2 separate regions of the Homo sapiens genome follow, and region 1 is linked to region 2. The links are contacts of gene promoters, found by promoter capture Hi-C in human tissues and cell types (Jung and others, 2019). All regions are on one chromosome and are shown on one strand. Each heading gives the region's core, a stretch centred on a gene start or on the middle of the fragment in contact. The rest is flanking DNA. Distances are from core to core; before and after follow the strand shown.

Region 1 (6,126 bases), core at 317-2,816, 300 kb after region 2:
CCCAGTGCACACACACACAACCCATTTCATAGGGACACACGTGCACACTGCATGCCCCAGTGCACACACGCACAACCCATTTCGTAGGGACACACATGTGCACACTGCATGCCCCAGTGCACACACGCACAACCCATTTCGTAGGGACACACATGTGCACACTGCATGCCCCAATGCACAGACACACAACCCATTTTGTAGGGTCCTAGCAGAATTTTCTCTGTAGGAAAAGCACTCAATCTTGCTGATTTGTGGCTGTTTCTCCGGTTTGCATCAGGTTGGGCCTCATGACACAGGACTGGCCTAAGCATTAGGTCAGAGCTGGAATATGCCAAGTCTTCCCCATCCCTTCTCCATTCCCAGGGCTGAGTAGTGGTTAGAAGGGCGAGCACAACACACCCAGACACTTATCCCCTCTATGTCTTCTGCCTTTCCTCTTTCCCCTGTAGGTGTTTCTTCTTAGAGTAGCTTTTTAATCATGCTCACTGGTTGTCTGCTTCTTAAGACTGGCCATGTTTCACAATTCTTCCAATTGCATTACTTCCCCTAAGGCTCTCCCTTTTCCTGGATATCTCATTGACACCTGTATTAGAGTTTTCCAGAGAAACAGGACCAATAGCATATATAGGAATATGCAGAAAGATATTTATGATGAGAGATTGGCTCAAGTAATGGTGGAGACAGAGAAGTCCCACCGTCTGCCACCTGAGAGCTAGAGGCCCAGCAAAGCTGGTGGTGGTGTTCCAGTCCAGGCCCAAAGGCCTGAGAACCAGGATCACTGACATGCAAGGACAGATGAAGATGGATGTCTCAGGTCAAGCAGAGAGGAAATTCACCCATCCTCTACCTTTTTGTTCTATTCAAGCACTTAACAGATTGCATGGTGCCCATCCACATTGGTGAGGGTGATCTTCTTTGCTCAGCTTACTGAATCAAATGCCAAACTCTTCCAGAAGGACCTTCACAGGTATGCTCAGTAGGAAAGTTTTACCAGGTATCTGGGCATCCCTAAGACCAGTCACATCAACTAAACCATCACAACACCTAAGACTTGAATTTCCAATTGTCTTCTGGTGTTTGTAAAACACTGTTAGGGAGCTCATCCCTCTCTGTTGAATCCTGGACAGTTTCAAAGCCTGCTGGTCAGCTCTGTCCCATTCTGCAGGCATCACGACCTCCAACCATCCAAATAAAGTAAGTGTCCTTGCTTGCTCTACTTCTGATCTGTCCTTCACATCCTGCGTCTTCTCCAAATTACCTATGTGTAATCTATGGCATTCTCACAATTAGCCCAAACTGGCGATCCAGTCCCTACACACACACACACAAACACAGACCCTAAATTCCCTTAATCTGTTTACTGAATCTGCTTCTTCTTCTGCTGAAACATTTCTGGAATCCCCCTTTCCTCTCATGCACCGCCATTGCCCAAGTTTAGGTATTCATCAATTCTTGCCAATGTGATTTCTAATGCACCTAATGGGTTTCTTATATCCAGGTACCCCCTTACTCTCCAGTCTGTCTTCCACTCTGCCCCTAGACTTGTTTTTCATATATAAAGCTCTTATTTTCCAGCACATATAAAATAAGCTTCTTAGCAGGGCACTCGAGGCTTTGCAAATGTGCTGTCAACCACTCCATGCACCTGTGCAGATTCCTAGTCGCTATTCCCCTCTCTTCAACACTCATGGCCCATCCCCAAGAGGCTGCCTTCAGGCCTTTTCATCTTTGCACATGTCCCTCCACTAGGAATGCCTTTCCTCTCCCAGGCTTGGCAAAGTACATTTTCAAGGCCTCTTGTAGTGCTGTGCGCTGTATGCTGCAGGTGATATGCCCCATGCTTCAGGCAGTTTGGTCTTGTAAGTGCAAGTAAGGGGCTTATCACAAGCCCTCTCACTTGCCTTGAACTCGGGATGTCTGACCCTTTCTCATGTGTAGCTTGGTGCAGGCTCAGAGTAGAATGAGGTAGGTGGGCAGTGCTGAACATGGAGATGGTTCTGGGGAGCTTCTGTGTGACTAATATCGCAAGGCCTCAGATAAAGCCCCCTGCAACCTCTCCTTTCCCTAACTGGTCTGAGCCAGGGGAAATGGCATCCTTGCCGTCATCACTACCATGCTGTGTTCCTATTTGCTCCAAGGACACAATCAGCATCATTACCCCATTCTCCTCAAAGCACATTCCATTCATTTTCTTCTTCAAGGCAGTGTTTTTTATCCCCATTCCACAAATGAGGAGATGAAGATTCAGACAGAGCAAGAAATTTTTCAAGGTAGCGATTCACCCTCTGATTCTCTGGACTAGAGTCATCCTGTGGAAGCTCTGCCTCCCTCCTCTGGTCTCTCTCTTTCCCGCATCCACTTTCCTCAAACACGTGTCACCTCTGTTTCATTCTCTGGCCACCTACCCCCACCATCCTTTCTTGGCTCAGATCTGAAGTACTCCAGACTACCAGATTACGTAAAAATTCAAAGGCATGAGAAAATGGCAAGCATGGAAACAAATTCTTGGTAGAGATGAGTGGCAACCTCAAAAAGAAGCCTCCTCTCCCCATAAATTCCTCAGTGCCCCATCAATCTCCATCAATCCATACAAGACCAGCCTCACTCTGACCACCCGGGTCTTCCACATACTATTGTTTTCTGCAACTTGAACAAAATAATGGATTGTAGTTGATATTCTCCAGGGGATTTGACTACCCTCACATAAAATCTCTAGTTAAAAAGAGCTGATTTAAGTCATACATACAAAAACAGCATGATAGCATGCAATGTTTATCAAACCTGAGTGGAAAAGGATTGCCTGGAAGGCTTTTTGAAAATTGTATCCATTCTCATCTCTACTGATGGTGCCTGAGTAGGTCTGGGCAGAATTCTTGGAGTGTCAGGGGATTCCTGAAGGAGGTCAACAGGAATCTCACTGGCGAAAGAAGAACTGACTTTGGATTTAGACAGACCTTGGTTCAGACCTTACCTTTGCCATATGCAAACATTAGAATTTTGAAAGAATTGCTCATTTTAATTTGACTTTTCATTTCATTTTGAAAATAAAAACTTCCCTTTTCATTTTATTTTGACTTTCAGTTTTTTCTCTTAGAAAACAAATCAAAATGAAACCTACCTCAAGGCATTGTTGCCAGACCCAAATAAAATCAATTACATTTCATGAAATAAAATAATCATCCTATGTTGGTTTTCAAATAAATGGAAAGTTGCTTTTTTCACGTCAGAGTGAATATTTTATAAAAGTATAATTACACATAAAGGAAAATATAATACATTGAGAAAGTGGTTGTTTTATTTAGTTTGAGAATTACATGCTATTAATGTATTTGTATCATTAGAAATTTTGCAGAGATCCCTACAGAAAATAATTATAACAATTTCCTTTTATTTCAACTTCGACAATGTGGTAGCAGGTATCCTGAAGGTGCTGCCTCTGACACCTCCTGGAAATTCTGTGTGCATGACTAGAAGCATTATTTGAATGCTTGGCTGAGTTCCGGAGAGGGACTCTGAGCAGCCAGAGGGAAGAACAAAGTGTCGGGAGATACTGGGAGGACACAGGAATGCAGGGGACAGGAATGCTTTTCCAATTTGTGCATTGGGGAATTGGGGGCAATCACCACAGGAGACAAAAGTTGGGTGCTTGAATCCTTGGGTCAGAAATCAAAACTTACTCCCACCTTCTGCTCCACCTACCCAACTAAGCCTGGCCCTGGCTGGGCTACACCCTCACTGAAAAGTATGCAAGAAAAAAACCTGCCTACTAGCTCAGAGGGCTGGAATGAATCCCAGGCTGTGTCTACGTGGGTGTCAGCGGGGATTGAGTAAAATACAGGCGGCGGGAACTTCCCTGAACATTTGTTACCATGGACCTAACTCATAAAGGATTAGGGCTGGAACTGAGATTATCAAGGTTGTGAACCTCTGGCGCACCTGCTGGAAACACATGCAAACCACTCCTGAAAAATGAACTCCCTGGCATCCCCACACCCCAAATTCATGTGGAACAAGTATGCTTAAAATGCTTAAAGACGTTTTAAAAAGGAAACGTAGTTGTCAGAAAAGACAAAGGATGCTTCAAAATACAAGATAGATTTTAGAAAAAAATCAAATGGAACCCTTTAAAAATGTAATCGTTGAAATTGGGATAATTCAAATGAGAGGAACAGCACATATGATGCCCATGAAAAAAAGAATTAATGGGTGGTAGAATAGATTAGAATAATTTATCCCATATTGAACAAAAAGAGATACAGAGATTTTACCTCATAGTTTACCTGTTAGAAACCTCATAGTTTACCTGTTAGAAACCTCATAGGTTACCTGTTATAAACCTACCTCTAATTAGAGGACCAAAGAAAGAAAACAGAAAAAAGTGGAAGAGAACCAATATTCATAGAAATAATAAATATTTTTTCCCACAACTTATGAAAGAATGGAGTCTGGAGAATCAGGAATCTTAGTAAGTCCTAAGAAAAATAAGTCCTATTGAGTACATACCTAAACTCATTACAGTGAAATTACATGCTACCCAATACAAGACATGATTAAACACACACACACACACACACACACACACACACACACACACACACCCTGAGATAAAACAGACTCCCAATAAAGAAAAACAAATTAGTCTGATAGCAGACTTCTCAACAGTCATCAGGGAGGCTGGGGTTTACCTTGACTGCTTAAATTAAAGTCCATTCCCAAGGACATCTCAAATGGCCAAGTAACCAGTCCCTGCTTGTTTATAGAGTGTGGAAGTTGTTTAGATTTGCTATGGACCACCTCTCTACCTCCACCTCACTGAGCTCTGAGGCAAATGGATTCCCCTATTGTAAACTAGGAATGAGTGTCTGAAAGAAGCCTTTTCTGATTCCCTGTAAAAGTTCATTCATCAGGAGGAAGGGGAGTCATTCCAGCCTTCACTGCCTGTGGACGGCAACAACTTCACTGTGGAAGACGCCAGTAGGTAAGAAGTTGCTCATGGAGCCCATATGAATAAAGACAACATTGAACCTGACTCCTTGGCTGCCTGTCTCCTTCCCCTTTCTACAGGAGAAGTAAAGGCATCTTTTAAGGACAAAGATGACAGTCTTTGTGCCTGGCTGAGTCCTTGCTTAGAGACACACAGAATAATAGAATAAACTTGGAAGGATAGTAAATTGATATGTTTTTATTTGCCCCTGAAATTATGTTCCTTTCTAGCCTGTTCCTCCCAAGAATGAGCCACAGAGGGTGTTGCCCACAGCAGGAGGGAGTCGATTCTCATCTGAGAACAAAGTGTCTTGATGAATTCTATATTTTAAAGGTGGATTTTCTTGATCTCCTTAGTCAGACTTAGTTTTGAAAGTCAAACTTTGTAGAGAGAGAAGAGATTTAGAAATTTTAAATCACCCTTTCTGAATGCCAAGGCTTTGGCCATATAATTATTGATGGATTGATTGATTGATTGATTGAAATGAAGTTTCACTCTTGTTGCCCAGGCTGGAGTGCAGTGGTGCAATCTTGGCTCACCGCAACCTCTGCCTCCTGGGTTCAAGCAATTCTCTTGCCTCAGCCTCCCGTTTCTGGGATTACAAGCATGTGCCACCATGCCCGGCTAATTTTGCATTTTTGGTAGAGATGAGGTTTCTCCATGTTGGTCAGGCTGGTCTCGAACACCCGACCTCAGGTGATCTGCCCACCTCGGCCTCCCAAAATGCTGGGATTACAGGCATGAGCCACCGCACCCGGCTGGGCCGTATCAATTTAATTATGATCATGGTGTTAGTGTTTTCCACAGACAGTCTCCTGAGAGTAGAGAGAGGGAGAGTGAGAGAGAGGTTGAGGCTGAGGTCTGTTAGAGCCTTGGACTTGTACTGGCAAAGTGGAAACCCCAGAAGAGAAGGAGAGGAGGTATAAGGTTCTGGGTGTGGAGGGTGGAGAAATGTTCGGTGGGCTGGTGTCACATAGCTTTTTCCATAGCTACTTTATTGTATCATTGCTTTAACATTGCTTTCTCAGAACTACTCTGATCATCTGACTCTCAATATACCCTTCTTCCCCATCTGTAGCCCTATTTTCTTAGGCTTTCTTTGCACTGATGCTTGTGTCATATGCCTATTTGCTGACAGGGTT
Region 2 (6,125 bases), core at 3,592-6,091:
TTACCACACGATAGAGCAGTATCACTCTTTGATATTTACCCAAGCAAGTTGAACACTTACATCTACACACAAAGCTGCACAAGGATGCTTGTAACAGATTTTATTCATCATTGCCAAAACATGGAAGCAGCCATGATGTCCTTCTGTAGGAGGATGGATAAACTGTGGTATACTCAGACAATGGAATGTTATGTATTGCCAAAAAGAAATGAGCTATGAAGTCATAAAAAGACATGGAAGAACATAAAATGCATATTGTTAAGTTAAGGAAGCCAATCTGAAAAAGCTACATACTGTATGATTCCATATATTTGACATTCTGGAAAAGGCAAAACTATTGCCATAGTAAAATAATCAGTTGTTGCCAAGGGCTTGGAGGGGTGAAGGATGAATAGGTGGGTGGAGGCCAGATGATTAGGGCCATGAAAATAATCTGCATGACACTATAATGATGGATACCTGCCATTATACATTTATCCAAATCCACAGAATGTACAACACCAAGAGTGAGCCTAATGTGGACTACGCATGTTGGATGATTATGATGTGTCATTGTGGATGCACTGATCGTAACACATGTACCACCGAGTGGGGGTGGTTGTGTATGTGTGGGGATAGACACTATGTGGAAGGCTCTGCATTTTCCATTCATGTTTGCTGTGAACCTCAAACTGCTCTAGAAAATAAAGTCTATTTAAAAAAATAGAATACATATCTCATATGAATAATTTCAAAAGACGTGAATTTTGGAGGCAGTACGTTTGTGGAATTATCTGGGCATTGATAACTAAAAGTCAAGCGCTCCATGATGAGAGCCACGCGGGAAAAAGAAAAGATAGTGGAACCAGAATTTTCAATCCAGGGCAGAACGCTTCTGAGCCGTAACTCTGAACACCTAAGCCAGTGTTTTTCAAACTTCAGTGGTGCCTCATTAATAGTGGGTTTTAACTAGCATTTACAGAAATGGAATGGAATGGAATAGAATAAAAAAGAGTATGAATTGCACATAAAAGAGAGATACTGATTTTTGACGCTTTGGTTTCTGCTTTATATGTGTATAGCATGAGTACTGGGTCATGATGTAAAAAGGTGTTTTATAAAATAGGTCATGATCAAAATAAATTTCCAAGCCGCTGCCCTGTGCTGTACTGCCCAACTGCTCTGGCTTTCATGGATCACACTCTGCAGTGGTCAATTCAGAGAATAAATGAGTGAAAAGCTTAACAACATTATTTTAGCTATTGAAACATGTTCTGATGAGCCAAACAGGGTAACAGCATCCACTGGTTCATTGTGTGTGTGTGTGTGTGTGTGTGTGTGTGTGTTTTCAAGGTAGGATTGTTCGATCTATACTCATTACCAGGTCTGAGGAACACTTAAGAAGGAATAAGAAGGAATGTCCAGTAGACAGAATATAACCAGATCCAAATTCAAGATTTAAGGCTGAAGCTGAGATAAATAGATACAGCTAACAATAAGGAGTGAACTCATTTCAGGAGAATAGGTAAAGGGAGAAAAAAGGAAAGGATCCTACCTTATAACTTCATTTCAGAGATGGGGAATGCATGTGGTTGCAATACTTCTAAAAATGGTGGTCAATCCATCAGATAAGTCAAATATTTACCCAGTGATATTTTTAGCATATTATTTGCTTAGAAAAATGCTTCTTTCCTAAGAAAAAGGGACACTTCTTACTCTGGCTGTGTTATAATTTTGAGAGATATCGTGAAATATCTCATCTCTTTATGTAATAGTCCTTTTACGTGACATTTTCTTTGTAAAGATGGAATTATGAAAAGGTAAAAATCACCATAAAAATAGTCATTTGTGCCTCTAATCAGATGTGACTCTTAAGATTCTGAACATTATGTATCCAACAATGTTTATGGTTAACAAACAAACTACATATCTTGCTTATAAATAAGTATATAGACAGACACACACAAAAATGAGTGAATATTGGCTCTAAAAAGATAACCAATGATCCTAATTATGATATACATTCAGTGGCTTAAAAAACAGTAGACCTATTTCCATTTTACTAAATTAGGTTTTCAAGAGGTGCATTATTAAAGGCTATATTTTCTATTTGGTAGCCTAAAATTTCTCTAAATAGTTGGTTACTGTTAATGGCGCAAACATCTGTTTTCAGAAGTAACTATTATTCCTGTAAGAAGCATGCGTACTCTCAAACATGTTCCCATATTTTTTTTTAAATGCTATACTTATTTAAAAATTTTCCCTTAGGGAGCAAAAATAAAGTATACAGATTATCATTTTTTTCATTCCTCACTCGACTACGTCTAACAACATTAAGTATGTGGGGTGAGTCCATGCTACAAAATAGCAATCTAGTTAATCTCTTGTGAAAATTGCCTGGCCTCTCCTACATGACAGGGGGGATTCAGCTGTAGCACCCGCCTGTGCCGCCTTCAGTGCCTGCTTTAGCAATCCCAATCTTTGCTTTATCTTCTCCAACAAACGGCTCATGTTGCCTTGAACAGAAATTATATTTCTTGTTCGAAAGAGCAGATTTTAACTTTTATTTCCTCTAAAAAGATCGCAGCGCTATGAGAATAAAATCTATTATTTTTCACTCCTACTATATTCAGATCATTCTCATTTTAAAGCTAAGCATGATTTTTGCTATAGCGTAAAGATAGCAAATCAATATGGAATTTGCCAAAGATTTTCAAATGCATTCTCTTTCCGAGGCCCAAATGGTAGGTGCCCTCACACTTTGCAAGCAAATAATGAAGCTGAGCTGAAATATTTCAATCCTTTTCTCTAGAGTGTGGATTTGTCCTGCAGTTGTGGGGAGGTGGGTGTAGGTTCACCTTGTGCTCCACCCCACCCTCCCTCCGGTGGTGTTCCCAATAGCTGAAAAACGTGTGAGCTGTAAGAGAAAAACAAGACCTAGTGCTCGCCGTGCGGGAGTGAAGATGAGTTTTCACACACTGCCTTGGATTTTATACATCTCCAGACTTTAAGTCACCCAGTATGAATGACTGTAAATTCTTTTGGTTCCTATGGCCCTGGAAAGAATAAATTGCCAGCATTATCAAGATTTAAGTTGGTCTGAATATTCCAAGTATTCGATGCAGTGTTTTTCTTTAGGATGAGTCGGGGAAGTGGGGGACGGGGGCGGGAATGGCTTATCGCAATGGCGGTAATTTTTTCAAATCATGATCTGTGTAAAACACGGTATTATTTTATGATATTAGAATCCTCAGAGAAGATCCAATACTTAAGAAATGTAGTATTAATTGCAGGAGGGCACCTGAAAGGAAGCAGATTCGGATAATTTTCCCAGTCCTACACGGCTGATTTCTCTGGTGAAGGGATCCGGGCAGTGTCTTAGGAACTGCTCAAAGTTCCCAGATACCCAGTGCTGGGGGGTGTGGAGAAGGCGAGGGTGGCGACAGACCATACCTATGAAGCGGTGATTTTCTTTAATTGCCCCCAGAATATCCGTAGAGGTAGTAGGGACTCAATAAAGAAACACAAAGGAGACGAACACGGCACGATCGCCGGGGTCCGCGGCTGCTCTGCGAGGCCCAGCGCGCCCCAGGTCGCGGCTCCCCGGCCGCCAGCGCACCTTTCCATCTCCAGGGAAAATATTTAGACGGGAAACTCGAGTGCACCTTATTTTCTCTTTGGTTTATGAGTGACCCAGAAGGCTTCTAGCTCACAATCGCACGATTTCAGGACGAGGCTGCCGGAGAAGCGCTGGCGACCGAGGATGGGGGAAGGACAAAGAGGAAGAGGAGGCCTGGGAAGGAGAAAGGAGCGGCGGAGGGGCGGGGAGAGGACGGGGCGGGGAGAGGAGGGGCGGGGAGCAGAGGGAGAAGGGAAGGAGGGCGCCGGGCCCCTCGCAGGGACGCCGGGCGGGGCGCGGGCTTGCTGGAGCCTGCGGGACCCAGAGCCCGCTCCGGAGCCAGCCCTGGGAGTGGCCAGCTTGAACCCGAGGGCCCCGCAGACCGTTACTCCGGCCCCCGCCCGGGGCGGGGCGCGCGGGGGCGCGGCGCAGCCCAACCCGCACAGCCGCGTCCCCAAACACCACCGAGGAGGGAAAACAGACGGAGAAAAAGGACAAAACAGAAAAATGCAAAACGGGGGAGGGAGCTCACCGCCTCTCGAGCTTTAAATTGATTTCTTTGCCTTACAAAAAGGGAGAAAGGGAAAAGGAGAGCAGAGCCCACGTGCCGGGAAGGTTGCTGTCTTCAAGCGCCACCTTCCGTCGGCCAGGGCCGCCGCGGGGCTACCGGGCGGGCTCGGGGCGGCGACCCGGGGGAGCGGCCGAGCCCCGCGAGGGGCTCGCCGGGGAGCAGCTGCGCCCACCCCGGGGCAGGCCGGGCGCGGCTGACCGCGAGCCGGGCGGAGGCCGCCGTCTCAGGCTGGGCGCGTGCCCGAGTGTGTGCACCCGGGGAGTGAGCGCGCGCCGTCCGCTGTCGCCGTCGGGCCTCCCGGGGACTGGGCACAAAGGCGCGCGGGGCCTCTCCCGGGACCCGGTCCTCGGTTAGCGCCGGCGCCCGAACCATCCCGGTTCGCCCCGGGCCGCCCGCTCCCCGTGGTGCCGCGCGCCGCTTCCGAGCATCCCGGGAACAGGCGCATCTGTGCACACACGCGGATTTTTTAAAAATAACATATTTCTAGACATGCCTCCTCTCCCCCCACCCCCATCTTTGCAAAGCAGCCCGGAGGGCGGGGTGGAGGGGCGGGGCCTCCGAGTTAATAAAGGAAGATGGGCGGAGCCGGCCCCCAGCCATTGGCTAGCTGGGGGAGTGATGTCACCCATATGACACCCTGATAACTAGTTGAGAGAGAGACCTCAACTTTTTGCAGAAGGAGCGCGCGCGCCTGGGAGAGCTCGGGGTCCGGCGCTTGCGGTAGGAGCCACGAGCCGGAGAGAGGGGTCCCGGGCTGCCTCGACCGCCGTCGCCACCGCCTCTCCTGTCGCGACCGCAGCTCCCACCGCGCCGGCGGCCGTCGTCGCCGAAGCCACCACAGCCGCTGTGTGCAGCCTGGAAGGGGGGGCGGGGGGGAGGGGGGGAGCCGCGAAAGCGGGGTGCCGAGGACTTTGCAACTTGCCCAGGAAGGTGGAGGGGTGGGAGGGGGAGGGGGACCTCCGCACGAGACCCAGCGGCCCGGGTTGGAGCGTCCAGCCCTGCAGCGGATCATGGTGCAGCAGGCGGAGAGCTTGGAAGCGGAGAGCAACCTGCCCCGGGAGGCGCTGGACACGGAGGAGGGCGAATTCATGGCTTGCAGCCCGGTGGCCCTGGACGAGAGCGACCCAGACTGGTGCAAGACGGCGTCGGGCCACATCAAGCGGCCGATGAACGCGTTCATGGTATGGTCCAAGATCGAACGCAGGAAGATCATGGAGCAGTCTCCGGACATGCACAACGCCGAGATCTCCAAGAGGCTGGGCAAGCGCTGGAAAATGCTGAAGGACAGCGAGAAGATCCCGTTCATCCGGGAGGCGGAGCGGCTGCGGCTCAAGCACATGGCCGACTACCCCGACTACAAGTACCGGCCCCGGAAAAAGCCCAAAATGGACCCCTCGGCCAAGCCCAGCGCCAGCCAGAGCCCAGAGAAGAGCGCGGCCGGCGGCGGCGGCGGGAGCGCGGGCGGAGGCGCGGGCGGTGCCAAGACCTCCAAGGGCTCCAGCAAGAAATGCGGCAAGCTCAAGGCCCCCGCGGCCGCGGGCGCCAAGGCGGGCGCGGGCAAGGCGGCCCAGTCCGGGGACTACGGGGGCGCGGGCGACGACTACGTGCTGGGCAGCCTGCGCGTGAGCGGCTCGGGCGGCGGCGGCGCGGGCAAGACGGTCAAGTGCGTGTTTCTGGATGAGGACGACGACGACGACGACGACGACGACGAGCTGCAGCTGCAGATCAAACAGGAGCCGGACGAGGAGGACGAGGAACCACCGCACCAGCAGCTCCTGCAGCCGCCGGGGCAGCAGCCGTCGCAGCTGCTGAGACGCTACAACGTCGCCAAAGTGCCCGCCAGCCCTACGCTGAGCAGCTCGGCGGAGTCCCCCGAGGGAGCGAGCCTCTACGACGAGGTGCGGGCCGGCGCGACCTCGGGCGCCGGGGGCGGCAGCCGCCTCTACTACAGCTTCA

Evidence for each region. The method cuts DNA at HindIII sites, captures the fragments that hold promoters and counts their contacts. A contact is called where the count stands out against the background at its distance.
Region 1: a fragment that was not itself captured here is called in contact with the fragment with the promoter of SOX11 in region 2 in 1 of the 25 tissues and cell types used here (pancreas).

What each region holds. Positions count from the first base shown.
Region 1 is chr2:5,987,991-5,994,116 of GRCh38, forward strand. It overlaps LOC400940 (a long non-coding RNA gene), which reads left to right. Exons shown (of 3, transcript NR_026833.1): 3 at 1-242. Among named protein-coding and RNA genes, the nearest start is that of MIR7158, 16 kb to the left of the region's middle. The HindIII fragment of the contact is 6,165 bases long and covers 1-4,649 here.
Region 2 is chr2:5,687,543-5,693,667 of GRCh38, forward strand. It overlaps SOX11 (SRY-box transcription factor 11), which reads left to right and starts at 4,842. Exons shown (of 1, transcript NM_003108.4): 1 at 4,842-6,125. The coding sequence starts at 5,180. LINC01248 (long intergenic non-protein coding RNA 1248) reads right to left here and starts at 3,576. Exons shown (of 5, transcript NR_110580.1): 1 at 3,433-3,576. It overlaps LOC124908052 (a long non-coding RNA gene), which reads right to left and starts at 3,421. Exons shown (of 2, transcript XR_007088653.1): 1 at 1,535-3,421; 2 at 86-213. The HindIII fragment of the contact is 8,038 bases long and covers 448-6,125 here.